3 separate regions of the Homo sapiens genome follow, and all the other regions are linked to region 2. The links are contacts of gene promoters, found by promoter capture Hi-C in blood cells and fetal thymus (Javierre and others, 2016). All regions are on one chromosome and are shown on one strand. The core of a region is centred on a gene start or on the middle of the fragment in contact, and the rest is flanking DNA. Distances in the headings are between cores, read along the strand shown. Region 1 overlaps OSBPL10 (oxysterol binding protein like 10). Region 2 holds the start of OSBPL10 (oxysterol binding protein like 10). Region 3 overlaps OSBPL10 (oxysterol binding protein like 10).

Region 1 (4,760 bases), core at 691-3,190, 190 kb before region 2:
GATCCAGAAAGACTCCACCTCAATTGCTCATCACTGTAGGTAAAGGCAACTTGCGTAGAAGTTGGAGAGCCCAAACTAGACTTTGGAATCACTCCCATGATTCTCACATGTGCCAAAGCCTGGGCAGAACCAGACAAGGATAGAGGCAAAGACCCAGGGATGCCATTATTCCCTCCTTTTCAGTGAGCCACCTTCTAATATTCTTTTTCCTTTTTTCCACTGGGTTCTTGGGTTTTCCTTTACCAATTTTAGGAGACCCTTATAGAACGGGGAAATTGGTCTCTCATCTATGTGATGAGTTGTAACTTTGCCCCCAGGTTGACTTTGCTTATGGCATATTTTTGGCCATGAAGCTTTCATTTTTATGAAGTCAAATTTATACTTCTCTTTTTTGTTGTTTTTGGCTTAAGATTTTTTGAGTCACGTTTTAAAAAGCCTTCTCCATCCTGAGACATCTCAGTCCACTTGGGCTGCTATAAACCTACGACTGGGTAATTTATAGACAGTAGAAATTTACTTTCTCAGTCTGGAGGCTGGGAAGTCCAAGATCAAGGTGCCTGTAGGTTCTGTGTCTGGTGAGGGCCCATTTCTCATATGGCACCTTCTTGCTGTGTCCTCACATGACAGACAGAAGGGGAAGAGTTCCCTGCAGCCCTTTTACAAGGCATTGCTGATGGTAGAGACCTCATGGCCTAATCACCTCCAAAGAGCCCTACCTCTTAACGCTGTTGCCCTGGAGATTAAAGTTTCACCATGAATTGTGGTGGGGACACAAACACTCAAACCATAGCACAGGTGAAAATATATATATATTGTATGATTTAAGCACTTTAAAAGTTTTGGTTTTGGTTTTCTTAAGTCTTTGTTCCATTTAGAATACATCATGGCACACTTCTCAGGTAACTCTCAGTTACTACGAGCTAGACTTTTGTAGATATGAGCAGCATGGGCCAGACCAGCAGCAGCAGCTTTTTAATCTGGCAGACACAGATCTGAACCAGCGCACCTCCTTATTAGATGCAATTTCAGGCAAATGATTTAAGAACTCCTTAGTCTTCAATTTCCAAAAGTAGAGAGAACATTATCTGTTTGCCAGGTTGTTCTGGAATTAAATAAGACAACTATGAAAAAGTATTCTGCACAATGCCTGGCATAGAATAAGCGGTCACGATATGGTTGTTGCCTCCTTACTTCTTCATGTCCCTTAGTTTGTTTGCATTTTGAATGATTTACTACTTCTCGAAGGATACACAAATATCACAAGGAATTCGGTTTGCCAATATTCATTCTTTTAAAGTCCTAAAAATTAGGCTTCAGGGGTATTTGTGGATTGATTTAACTACAAAAGGTCTGGTCCTTTTAGTCATATATAATGGATTCGAAAGACATGATAGGCTGGGCATGGTGGCTCATGCCTGTAATCGCAGCAGGGAGGCCAAGGCGGGCAGATCACCTGAGGTCAGGAGTTCCAGACCAGCCTGGCCAATATGGTGAAACCTTATCTCTACTAAAACTACTAAAATTAGCCAGGCATGGAGGCGGGTCCCTGTAGTCCCAGCTACTTGGGAGGCTGAGGCAGGAGAATCGCTTGAACCCGGGAGCTGGAGGTTGCAGTGAGCCGAGATTGCGCCACTGCACTCCAGCCTGGACGACAGAGCAAGACTCCGCCTCAAAAAAAAAAAAAAAAGACATGATAATAACCTAATCAATATGTCCTTTGGGAAGGATTAGCCAGCCGGTTCAGCCACACCAACCCTGTTGATCAGCAAGACAGCAGATCAAAGACAGACCACTCAGTCCTAGATTGGTTCACAGTCTACATGCTTCACATCATGTTTTGCTAAGAAATTTGAAATCTACATGCCTTCTAGGTGCAGTTCAGAATAATTTCCAAAATAAGGATTTTAAATGGCAAATGGCATAAATACCCGACAACAGAATGAGTATTTAAATAAATTATAAGGAATTTGGTATTTTTAAGTAAATATATAAATGGAATATAGTTACTTTAAAATGCACAAACAGAATATAAATGGAAACATATATTAAGTAAAAAAGAAAGTATTCTGCCCATCACAAATGTAATAAATGAATAATATTTACACAAATTGACAAAGATGAGAAAATGTTGCTAATACTTCCCAAAGGACATATTGATTAGGTTATTGTTTTTTTTCTCCCAGAAAAGGTGACTCTGGAATAAATTTTAAAGCTGTCTAGAGATAAGCCTGTATCTAGATTTCAGAGATGTCAGCAATCTGACCCTGGCAGGGTTACAAGAAATTAGTTTTCTAGAACTATCAACATGAACAGGAATACTGAAAGGAGTTACTGTGCCAAATTTTATCCTATAAAATCCTATGACATTTTGCCATAATGTCATTTAATAGAAGATAACTATTATCAGTGTGGAATAAATGTCAAAACAAGTATCAAAGAAATGATAGAAGCCTCATTTTCCTAAATTCTTAATTCCACTTAGTCCTTTTCCTGATTCCATCTGCTGGTGACAGGTAAGCATATAATTCTTGATCTTGTTTTACAAATTTGGTGGTGGGTGGGATAGGAAAGTTGGAAGAAAGAAGCCTGGAAGACTAAAAATCACAGGTAATCCAAAATGCATACTATATTTAATCAGTAACTTTGCCCCTTTTCTCTAACATTCAAGGAAGCCAAAAGAAAAAACTCCCATTTAAAAATGGCTGTATGGTAGGTGTGGTGGTGTACACCTGTAGTTCCAGCTACTTAGGAGGCCGATGCAGGAGGATCACTTGAGCCCAGGAGTTCAAGGTTGCATTGAGCTATGATGCCACCTGTGCACTCCAGCCTGGGCAACAAAGTGAGACCTTGCCTCTAAAAAAAAATAATAATAAAAATAAATTGGCTTTATGGAATTATTAAAACATTATATAGACATTGTAGGAAATTTGGAAAATACAGAAGGCATGAGGAAGAAAAAATAAAACTCACCTACAATTTCATTAATCCAGAGAAAATCATGAACATTTTAGTATACTTCCTTCCTGGATGTTTCTTTCTTTTTTTTTTTGGTTTTGTTTTGTTTTTTGTTTTTGAGACGGAGTCTCACTCTGTCACCCAGGCTGGAGTGCGGTGGCGCGATCTTGGCTCACTGCAACCTCTGCCTCCCAGGTTCAAGAGATTCTCCTGCCTCAACCTCCTAAGTCACAGCGATTACAGGCGCATGCCACCACGCCCAGCTAATTATTGTATGTTTAGTAGAGAGGGGTTTCACCATGTTGGTCATGCTGGGATTACAGGTGTGAGCCACCATGTCCGGCTAGGATGTTTATTTCATACATATATTTAATGAAATATTTTCTTCCATATCCTGTAGATTCTGTGGTCTGAAAACTCTTCACGCACAGATTCAATGAAAGGCACTCTAGGGTGGCAGGGGTAGGTGACACTACCAAGGGGTCTTTCTTCAGGTCCTTGAGTCCATCATGAAAGAGTAGTCTAGTCAGCCTTTGTTGGAAAAGAAAACAGATGCTGAAGTTCTCCAGAACAAAGCTTAGAAGTCTAAATTGTAAACTCTTCCTATAGGGTACAGGGCAGAGCAAACAAGTCCCTGAAGGTCCAGGAAAGGACTCAGAACTCGGCATGTGCCTGTGAAAGAAGTGGTGGGGGACCAAGTGCAGAGCCGGGAGCACTGCCAGGCAGGGGCACTGCCTCAAGAAAGATACCGTGAGGGCAAGAGCCCAGGCAGGGGGAGCAGATCAGGATGGAGCTGCAAGTCAGCAGGTACACAGCACCATAGGCAACGGAGGCCAGGCCACATCGTAGGAGGACCATCAGGCTAGAAGAGACTAAGACTCTCCCTCTGCAAGGTTCTTTCCTCTCTCCTTGGGGTTAGGGATCATGAGGATGACTGGACTATGCACCAAAAATAAAGAGGATACTTCTTCCTTGTAACCTGAGTTGTATGGTGTATACATTTGCAACTCTTTTACTAAACCTGCCACATTTATATACTACTTTGATGTCCACTACAATCATGACACACATTTTTATTCTTTTTTTTTTGCTTAATATATTACAAATACTTTACCATAACATTAATTTTTAAGAACATGATTTTAAAGATGATCTGGTATCCCACCATATGAATATTCCTTACTTTAGCTAACTGGAAGTCAGTGAGATAAAACTGTAAGCAAAACAATTACCAAAATAAAAATTAGACATGACCGATAAACACATGACATGCTTCAATCTCACAAGTAATTACAGAAATGTACATTGTAAGAATAATTAGATGCTTTCTTGTCTGCTTAGCAAGTTGGCAAAAATGTTTAAATATGGTAATACTCTGTTGGCAGGAGTTCAGGAAAACAAGCAGTCAAATACACTGCCAGCCAAGGGTGTAAATTAGGATGACTTTTCTCCAGGCCATTTGGCAATATGTTCCCCAAACCTTTAAAAGACCATTTGTGTGTGGCAGAACCCATGAACCCCTGAGTATGCGCTCAAGAAGAAATGTGTCCTCAATCATCCTCTGAATAATTAAGACCTGATTTACATTTCACATATATAAAATTCTTCTGTCTCTGAATCACAGCTGTTCGCATACACCATCTGCTAATTAAAAAATACTGACGGGGGAAAAAGATGAAGGGCAAAAGATTAAGAGGCCATCTGATAGATCTTGGGGGCATTCTTGCCAACTGCAGGTGGGGCTGCCACTGAGATGCTTATGGCGCCTTGAAGTTTCTCGGAACTGGAGCCAATCCTTGAGGTCT
Region 2 (4,635 bases), core at 605-3,104:
CCTCCAAGTTGAGTTTCGTGCAGATAACTGGCTGATATGTTTCAGATGGAAGCAAATCTGAACATTTCCAAACAATCTACAGGAAGAGATAACCAAGTAATATAGTCCATGCAGCAGAGATAAGCAACTTTCCAGGGTATAATTCAAATCTCACAAACATCCTTAAGAGCCCCAAGTCTATTAAGATCTGGAGACTGTTAAATAGGCAGGACAAAATATCCCACCAACCACCTCTCCAAAAAGCATTGTTCTCCTCGCACTGACACTTGTATTTCCCTCTGGCTTGTTTTTGGAAAACAAATTGAAAAAAAAAACAAAAACAAAAAGTAAACAGTAGTGCCACATCTGTTCTTGTCTTCCTCACGATGGCAGATCACACACACTACCACCATTCCAAGTGCCTCCTGAGCCCCTTTCCTCGACAGCCCCATCCTTCCACGTGTCCATAACTAGGCTTCTCAACTGCAAGGGGGAAGTGAGCAGGAAACTTCAAATGGGACCTGAAGAGGAAATAATGATAATAATGTAAATTGCTACTAATATTAAAAGGGGGAGGGTATTTTTTCTTTCTTTTTATTATTTTATTTTATTTTATTTTATTTATTTATTTTTTTTGAGTCGGAGTCTCGCACTGTCGCCCCGGCTAGATTGCAATGGCGCGATCTCGGCTCACTGCAACCTCTGCCTCCGGGGTTCAAGCGATTCTCCTGCCTCAGCCTCCGGAGTAGCTGGAATTACAGGCGCGCCGCCACGCCCGGCTAATTTTTTTTGTTTTTAGTAGAGACGGGTTTTCACCATGTTGGCGAGGCTGGTCTCGAACTCCTGACTTCGTGATCTGCCCGCCTCGGCCTCCCAAAGTACTGGGATTACAGAGGTGAGCCACCGCGCCCGGCCTCTTTCTGTTTTTAAACAAAACTTCCATTACAAACATCGGAGGCTGCAAGGCACAAACTGGGGCAGGAGTATGCACAGTCGCCCAGGATGACAAGTGGCAGGTTTTTTGTTGATGGTGGTGGTGTTCTGAAACACCAAACTTTAAAATGAACTGTTACTTAGAGAATTACTGTAATCGGAGCGGACGTGCTAACGCTTTTTCACCCCGGCACAAAGCACGCCCCTTCTGCCTCCCTTTCCCAGTCATTCTTCAGGCGTGCGGGAAACCGCGGACAAGCAGAGCACGGGGACCAGCACGATCCTCCTGCCACCACTCCAGTCTCTGCAGGTGCCAGCATAGAAGAAAACCAGGGCTCTCGCCTCCCTCCCCGCCACTGCGGTGCGGTCCCGGGGTGGAGCCACGGCGCGCCCCATCCTGAGAACCCCACCTGGAGGGGAGCAGGGACGCAGGAAGGGCACCGTTGGGAGGCATCACTGGGTTCGCTGAAGGCACAATCGCGCGCGCACACACATACACAGACACACATACACACACGCACGCACACACACACACACACACACAGCGGCGCGCGGTGGCGCGGGCGGCTGGCGCGTTACCTGTTCTGCCAGCCCTGGAGGAGGTTGGTGTATTTGCTGAGCACGCCCTCGAGCGCCGGCTCCCTCCTGCGGCCGCCTCCCCCGGACGGGCTAGCGGCCACAGAGCCCGGGCTGCTGCGGCTTCCCCCGCCGCCGAGCCCGGCCGCCGCCGACCGGCTGGAGACCCCCCGGCCCGCCAGAGAGCAGGAGGGCGAGGAGCCCGCCGAGGTAGCACGGCTGCTGCTGCGGCTGCTGCTGTTGCTACCCCCGCCGCCGTCTGTGCCCTGGACTGCCCTCTCCATGGTCCGTGGGCGCCCGGGACGCGGGTGCCCGCCGCGGTGGCGGCCCCGGCACGGCGGCTGCTGCTGCTGCTACAGCTCCGGACGCCCGGGCCGCGCGTGCCTGCTCCAAATCCCCGGGAAATGCCTGACTCATACAGGAGGAAGAGGAGGAGGAGGCGAAGGAGAGCTGGGAAGGAAGCCAACGGGGCTGGATGCAGCTGCGGCCGCCCCTCCTCCCGCCGCGGCCAGGGCCCGGCCCCTCCCTCCGCACTAGTTTCCCGGGCAAGTTCGGAGCGGGTGGCCGGCTAGGCGAGCCCTCTTCGGGTTCCTCCTTCTCTTCCTTCGTGTCCCTGCGGCCTCTCAGGCCCTCGGGACACTCTAGGAGGCCGATCTGCAGGGTGGGCACGCCCTAAATCCACGCCAAGTCACCCACGCATTCCTTCTGCCACCCTCTCTTGGATCCGAAGGGGCGAAAGGGAATCTCTGCACGTCACTCCCCACCCCTTATCCACCTCGGGACCTGGAGGGAGGGGCAGCCCCACCCACCCGGTCCACCCGGATATGGACCCGCCCGGCCTGACAGGCTCACACGCACACTCCCTCTCTCGGTCTTCCGCACACGATGCTGCGCCAGACGCTCCTACACAGTAACCTGGAAATTATCACCGGCGGAGCAAAGTCACAGCTCAGGGAGGCCCTCCGCGTTGTCTGGCGGAGGAGGGGAGTGGCAGGTGATCCTCACAGGTAAGCTCGCCGGGCATTTTCATGCAGCAGGATTATGATAAATGCTTAACAGACACACGGCTGGGCTGGGGTGAGGCGCGCGAACTCTCAGGTTTGTGCGAGTGCTTCCTTAAATTGAGTGTCCTAGGTCACTCACTGGCCTAACCCTAATCCCCTGCCCTGAATGGCACGCATAAACCTGGCAAGTCAAAACCTATCCATTGCTACCACACTGCACGTGCACCTAGGAGCAGAGGCTCTGAAACCGGGAAAACTGCTCCAGAGGCAAGGGAAATTAACAGATATTTACAAACATTGAAGGATTCTCTGTGTTGGCTGTAACTTCTGCGCCCCTCTTCCTACCTAAAGATACTCTTTCTATCCCACTAATATTTTTTGTGAATATAGATATCCATTGTAATCTGAAGTATCAAAAATTACCTAGAAAAAAGCTTTGAGGAACTCAGACTCTCTCTCTCACACACACACAGACAAAACAAAAGGTGATAGATGATAGGTGATCTCCGTCCAAAGGATCTACAAACCCATCAAGCAGATAAATACTTCAAGAGTTAAAAAAAATTACTAAATGGAAAAGTCAGCTCTCAAAGGGACAGTTCCCCGAGCCCAACCCCTTTCTAGCTTCACATCCTTCCAGGAAGATTTCATGGGTGGTTTAGCTCTAGAGATGCACGGAGAAGCTTCTGGAGTTGAAGAGAAGTGGTTGTGCCCCTGAGTAAATTACAATTCCAGGTGCCTACATAGTGTTAAAAAAAAAAAAATCTGAAAAGAGCTTGCCTGGACCAAATTTGAAGCCATTCAGAGCTGAATTCTAACCTATGACCTTGATCAAATTACCTCTTTTAGCCTTAGTTTTCTCACTGCAAAATGGGACAAATGATACCGGCTGTAATAAACTATGCAAGAATGTTCATTTGTTCAAAATATTTACTGCCGCTTCCTATGGAAAGAGTATCCTTCCTCCACATGGACCTTAGGCTTGGCCATGGAATTGCTTTGAGCAATGGAATGTGAACAGAAGTAATGAATGCCCCTTCCAAACATAAGCTTTAAGAGCAGTCATATGGTTCCACCATCTTTCTCTTTTCCTTATCCCAGGAGAGCAGCATGTCCCGGATAAGGACTCTCCTTAAGCTTGTGTCCTGGAGTGAGAAGGTGTGGAATACAGCAGATCCTAAGCCAGTTAGTGTTGGCCATGTAACATGCACAAAATGTTTGTTTGAAGCCATTGAGATTTTAGCATTATTTTTTACCACAGCATAGCTTTGCCTAAGCTAACTTACTGATCATATATGAGTGTTCATTGAGTCCTGCATTGACATACAGACTGAAGGTGGGAAGGTAGGTGCATACTGGACTATAAATGTCAGCATTATGTACCAAAACAACATGCCTTTTATTGGAGACTGCCACCTTAAGCTCCTGCTAAAAGAGGAGAAGTGTCATTTTATTTCATATTACCTAACCTATGCCACCATTACTCCACCTTATGCAGCCAACCTAAGACTGAATGAGCTAGCACAACAAATTCTCACCTTGGACTAAAAAATTAGACCCTTGAGATAGACCAGTTCAAGTGGGGAAGGAACTAAGCTAAAAGGAATAGTCAAGGCCAGGATGGGGCAGGAGCAAGCCAGCCGTATGGGATCAAAAATGTCCAAGAGGTGAGTGGAGCAGATGTGCTGAAAGTAGAGGCTATATCATGAAAGAGTGATGAAGCACATGCTGTTCCTCCTGCTGGTGACACTGTTCCCTGCTCTCTTCACCCGGTTTGTGTTTCTCACCCATGGAGTTATGGATTACAAGTCACTTCTTCCAGAAAGCTTTCCTTGACCTACCGTAGTATAGCAAATAGGGAAAAGGTACCTGCAGAATTATGTTTGGAGAGGAAAAAGTCTTTATGTTTGAAAAACAATTTGGAAAATACATAATAAGTTGGCAAAAAGTATTTGAAATACATACTGTAATGCCCAACAGTTTCATCTTGCTTGTTACCCGGAAAAGCCAATGCAGGTTTTTGCAATAGAGGAAGAGTTTAACAATTGTAGGGCCAGCCAAGCTGGAGCACAGGAGTGTATTATTACTCAAATCAATCTCCCTGAAAATTCAGAGCCTAAGGGGTTTTTTTTGTTTTTGTTTT
Region 3 (4,491 bases), core at 1,127-3,626, 210 kb before region 2:
CTCAATGCCACTATGAGATGGATCCATTTGAACAAAAACAATGTATACACCCAATCTAAGTGACAGCCAGTGGGACTTTAAAATTAGCAAGTGAAAAAGGAGGTACAATACCATTTCTGGGGATAAGTAGGACCAGGTTTGGGTTTTTTTTCTTGCTCTATCAAGACTGAGAAGTTCAGTAGTCAGGGGACAAGGTTTCATATTTTCCTTGTATACCTCCCAGGGTTTAGTTGATCATGGTCACAGAGAAAGTTTAGTAACAAAGAAGTGAAACCACCCACACTCATGCAAGGAGAAGGGGATTTGTTGCATGGATACAGGAAAGAGTGCCCAGAAACTACTTGAAAGAGCTACTCTTTCTTTCCTTCAGAGATATGGCCGTCTCTTATTTCTCTCTATCCCCTGGTCTCTATGGTCGCTGGTTTTCACACCTTTCTCTCCTCTTCTTGCTCAACTCAACTTCCTCCACTTGCAACAAAGCCCAGCAGAGCCGCTGGAGCCAAATCTACCCAATCCTCTAGTTTCTTCTCCTAATTCAGATGAGAGAAAGTGAGTTTACGTTATTGGCTCTGGGTCACATGCCTGCCTGAGCCCACTCAGCTGACACTGGAGATGTGGAAAACAGTGGCCATGTGACACACCATGTGGACACAGATCCCCCACTTCAACATAGGGTCTTCCCTCTGCCCACTGCTCTGTGATGTTTGGCCCAATGTAGTTTTTTTGTTTTTTTGTTTTTTTTTGTTTTTTTTTTGAGACACGGTCTCACTTCATCACCACCCAAGCTAGAGTGCAGTGGCACAATCATTGCTCATTGCAGACTCAACCTCCAGGACTCAGATGATCCTCTGAGCTCAGCTTCCCAAGTAGCTGGGAGTATAGGCTCACACCATGACACCCAGATAATTTTTATTTTGGTAGAGATGGGGTCTCATTATGTTGCCCAGGCTGGTCTTGAACTCCTAGCCTCAAGCAATCTTCCTCCTCAGCCCCTCAAATTGCTGGGATTACAGGTATGAGCCACTGTGCTGGCCCCAGTGTAGAATTCTGACATTCATGAGCTATAAGGATACATACTATTTACAAATACTTTTAAAACTCACTTCACAAGATTTGTAGGTCAACTGGAACATCAGTTAAGGCTTTTATCCAAGACAATTAATCAAATAATGGAGCATTTCTCTAAACTTAATGCTGGCATGACATGAATGCCAGGTTACAAAGCTTCCTGTCAGAGGGCCTGAAAGTGTACTAACTTCTTATAAATGCCTGTGATAAACACCCAGCTGTAACCAAGCCCAGAACACCCCACCTCCTCTTTCTTTCATTTGCAGTACAATCTCATAATGAAAAGCCAATAGAATCTGCCAGGTTATAGAGGAGATTAAAAAGAGATGAGGGCTCAATCCACAGTCCTCTCTAAGCTTAGCCTTTCCCTGGTGATTCCTAAGTCTAGAAAACAACCCAATTAGCTACGTTATACTACTTTTTCATATCAGGTCTGGAGGGCTATACTTTCATTAACTTTGTGGAAATTAAAATTACCACTGAGGAGCTCTGGATTTTGCTACAATATTAGCCAATTCTCTCTTTCAAGAGCCCTCTTGTGTTTTGCTCATGCAGTTGTGATTAAAACAGTTCCCTCTGTTCATGGGAATAAGTTCTTCTCCCACGACCATCACTAAGCCAGTGAGAAAAAAACTCAACTGTGGTCCCTGCAATAACCACTTGGAAAGTACAGGATCTAAAAAATATAATTGTGTGTAATTCTCACAAACGGTGGCTTTGTATCTTGTCCCTGCCTCCTCATAAATACACTACCTACTTGGGCAACATGACACCTCTTGAATTCCTGTCAGGTTACATCTGCCTAGAAAGCTTTTCCTCCCCATCTCTCATGGTCAAAGTCCTACCAGGCTTCCAATGCCCTTCCTCAGTTCTTCATGAAGCCTTCCTTATCTCCCACTTAGAAGTCCCCGTGCCCCAAGTCTCTCAGAGCCCTCCCGTGAGCACTTGCCCTTCTCTTCTGTAAGGCCTTGAGGTCTGGGGAGCAGGCCCATGTCCCCACTCCCATAGCACCTGGCTAGTGCAAGGTGACCCTAATTAAGTGTTAAATGAACCACTGAATGCACCCTTCAGGCTCTGGGTCTAGCCTCAGACTTCAGATTTGTTTCTTCCAGGTGAAAATGCTCTGCTTCAGTTATCACAATTGTGTCAGTAGTCGGGGCTGTCACAAGGCGAACCTCAAAATTTGGGTTCAGCCTGGGAGGTCACATGGGTCGTTGGCTTCATGTAGAAAGGAATTCAAAAGCCAGCCTACAGAGTAAAGTAAAAGCAAGTTTATTAAGAAAGTAAAGGAGTAAAGGATACTCGATAGAGCAGCCCTGAGGACTACTGGTTGGCTATTTTTATGGTTATTTCTTGATCGTGCGCTAAAAAAGAGACAGATTGTTCATGAGTTTTCCGGGAAAGGGGTGGGGAATTCCCAGAACTGAGGGTTCCTCCTCCTTTTAGGCCATATAGGGTAGTTTCCAGACATTGCCATGGTATTTGTAAACTGTCATGGCGCTGGTGGGAGTGTCTCTTAGCATGTTAATGCATTATAATTAGCATATGACCAGTAGTGAGGACCACGAGAGGTCACGTTCATGGCCCCCTTGGTTTTGGTAGGCATCTCTTTTTATCAGGGGAGGTTTTTGCGACCCATACCTTGCAAAACCAGTCCTACCAAACTCCTATCTCAGGGCTGCCCAATTTTTGGCTAATCTGACCATTTATAGAAGGAAAATGCATTTTCTCCTTCAGTTCAGAAAATAATTAGAAATTGTCTCCCTTTAGACTTATCTGTGTACTATTAATTCACCACCTTTAAACGAAGCTTTTAGAAAATGTGTAATATTAGTACTCTTGCAGATATTTTTTCAGATTTCCCAGATGTAAAATAAACACATGTAATTCTTTCCACACTACAACATAAATACATATTTCACTCCAGGGATAAATTGGCCTATGTTCATGTAAATTTAGTAGCAATAAAAGGTAACCGGCAGCCTGAGGAAATGCTCACTGGCTCCCTTCCTAGGCTTCTGACTGTATACTTCACCCTCTGTGCCACCCCAACGCATCAGGAACCCAAACCTACATACACCTCTAAACAAGGCAATTCCTCTAGTTAAAACAATAATATTGCTTCGAATTGAAATATATGCTAGATTTTAATCAAGCTCCATTTATTTCACAAACAATTTCCTCAGCATTCACATTGGGTAGGTATTACCCCTTAAAGGGTCTTAGAGCTCTGAAAAGTTAATCTGAAGAACAATGACCATTTTTGCCCATTCCATTGCTGCCCCCTGCTGACAAAAGAATGGACACCTTTGGCAGACACTGCACTTTCCTGAGAAGACGGCAGCCGCGGAAAAATAAGCCAACTGAACTACTGAGTGCCAAGCCCCATGGAAAATAAGAAAGGGGCCCTTAAGAAGTGGTACCCAAATGGTCTTAAGAATGAACAGAGGAGACAAAACATGCAAGCATGAAATAATCAAAGAACAGACGGCTGGGCACGGTGGCTCAAGCCTGTAATCCCAGCACTTTGGGAGGCCGAGGCGGGCAGATCACCTGAGGTCGAGAGTTTGAGACCAGCCTGACCAACATGGAGAAACCCCGTCTCTACTAAAAAACACAAAAAATTAGCCAGGTGTGGTGGTGCACACCTGTAATCCCAGCTACTCTGGATGCTGAATCAGCAGAATTGTTTGAACCCGGGAGACAGAGGTTGCAGTGAGCCGAGATCACGCCACTGCACTCCAGCCTGGGCAACAAGAGCAAAACTCCATCTCAAAAAAAAAAAAACAAAAAAAAAACAAAAAAAAACAGAATAAAAATATATTTTATTAAAAATATATTTTTATATTATAACTCATTATAAAAATATATTTTATTAAAAATATATTTTTATATTATAACTCATTATAAAAATATATTTTATTAAAAATATATTTTTATATTATAACTCATTATAAAAATATATGAGTTAGACTGTAGCTGTGCAGACTACAGGATTTGGGAAAAGGAGAGGCAGATGAAGATGGAGACGCCATATAGGCTGTCAGTTCCCAACCTTTTCACCACTAAGGAACCCCACCTCACCCACTTCTTGCTTTCAGTTATTTGTCTACATAAGAAAACCAGATTTCCCAGCAAATGCTCACTTAACTCCAGCCAAGAGCAAAGAAACAGATAACTGCTTGATTGTAGGTATTTTTAAATGGTGAAAATAGTTCATGGATCCCCTAAGAAGGTTCTGAAATCTATGGACCCTGCAATGCCATCTCAATGGGTTTTTCAAGGGGTTTGGGAATATCCACAAAATATATTTGATGACAAGGTTCTGCCTGTACCTAGAAGCATTTTCCTCCTAAGGAAAGAGTCCTTGACTTTCATTAGATTCTCAAAGAAACTTGTGGTCAAAGATAAAGCAATCAATAA

What was found. Contacts are between HindIII fragments. The CHiCAGO score rates a contact against its expected background, and 5 or more counts as called.
Region 1: a fragment that was not itself captured here is called in contact with the fragment with the promoter of OSBPL10 in region 2 in 1 of 17 cell types (endothelial precursors); the score reaches 6.5 in endothelial precursors.
Region 3: a fragment that was not itself captured here is called in contact with the fragment with the promoter of OSBPL10 in region 2 in 1 of 17 cell types (endothelial precursors); the score reaches 6.3 in endothelial precursors.

Annotation. Positions count from the first base shown.
Region 1 is chr3:31,785,924-31,790,683 of GRCh38, forward strand. The region is part of intron 4 of OSBPL10 (oxysterol binding protein like 10); the gene reads right to left. Among named protein-coding and RNA genes, the nearest start is that of OSBPL10-AS1, 84 kb to the left of the region's middle. The HindIII fragment of the contact is 3,178 bases long and covers 352-3,529 here.
Region 2 is chr3:31,979,408-31,984,042 of GRCh38, forward strand. OSBPL10 (oxysterol binding protein like 10) reads right to left here and starts at 1,855. Exons shown (of 12, transcript NM_017784.5): 1 at 1,492-1,855. The coding sequence starts at 1,772. ZNF860 (zinc finger protein 860) reads left to right here and starts at 2,343. Exons shown (of 2, transcript NM_001137674.3): 1 at 2,343-2,495. RefSeq lists a silencer at 1,545-1,614. The HindIII fragment of the contact is 3,310 bases long and covers 1-2,924 here.
Region 3 is chr3:31,765,604-31,770,094 of GRCh38, forward strand. The region is part of intron 4 of OSBPL10 (oxysterol binding protein like 10); the gene reads right to left. Among named protein-coding and RNA genes, the nearest start is that of OSBPL10-AS1, 64 kb to the left of the region's middle. The HindIII fragment of the contact is 1,000 bases long and covers 1,877-2,876 here.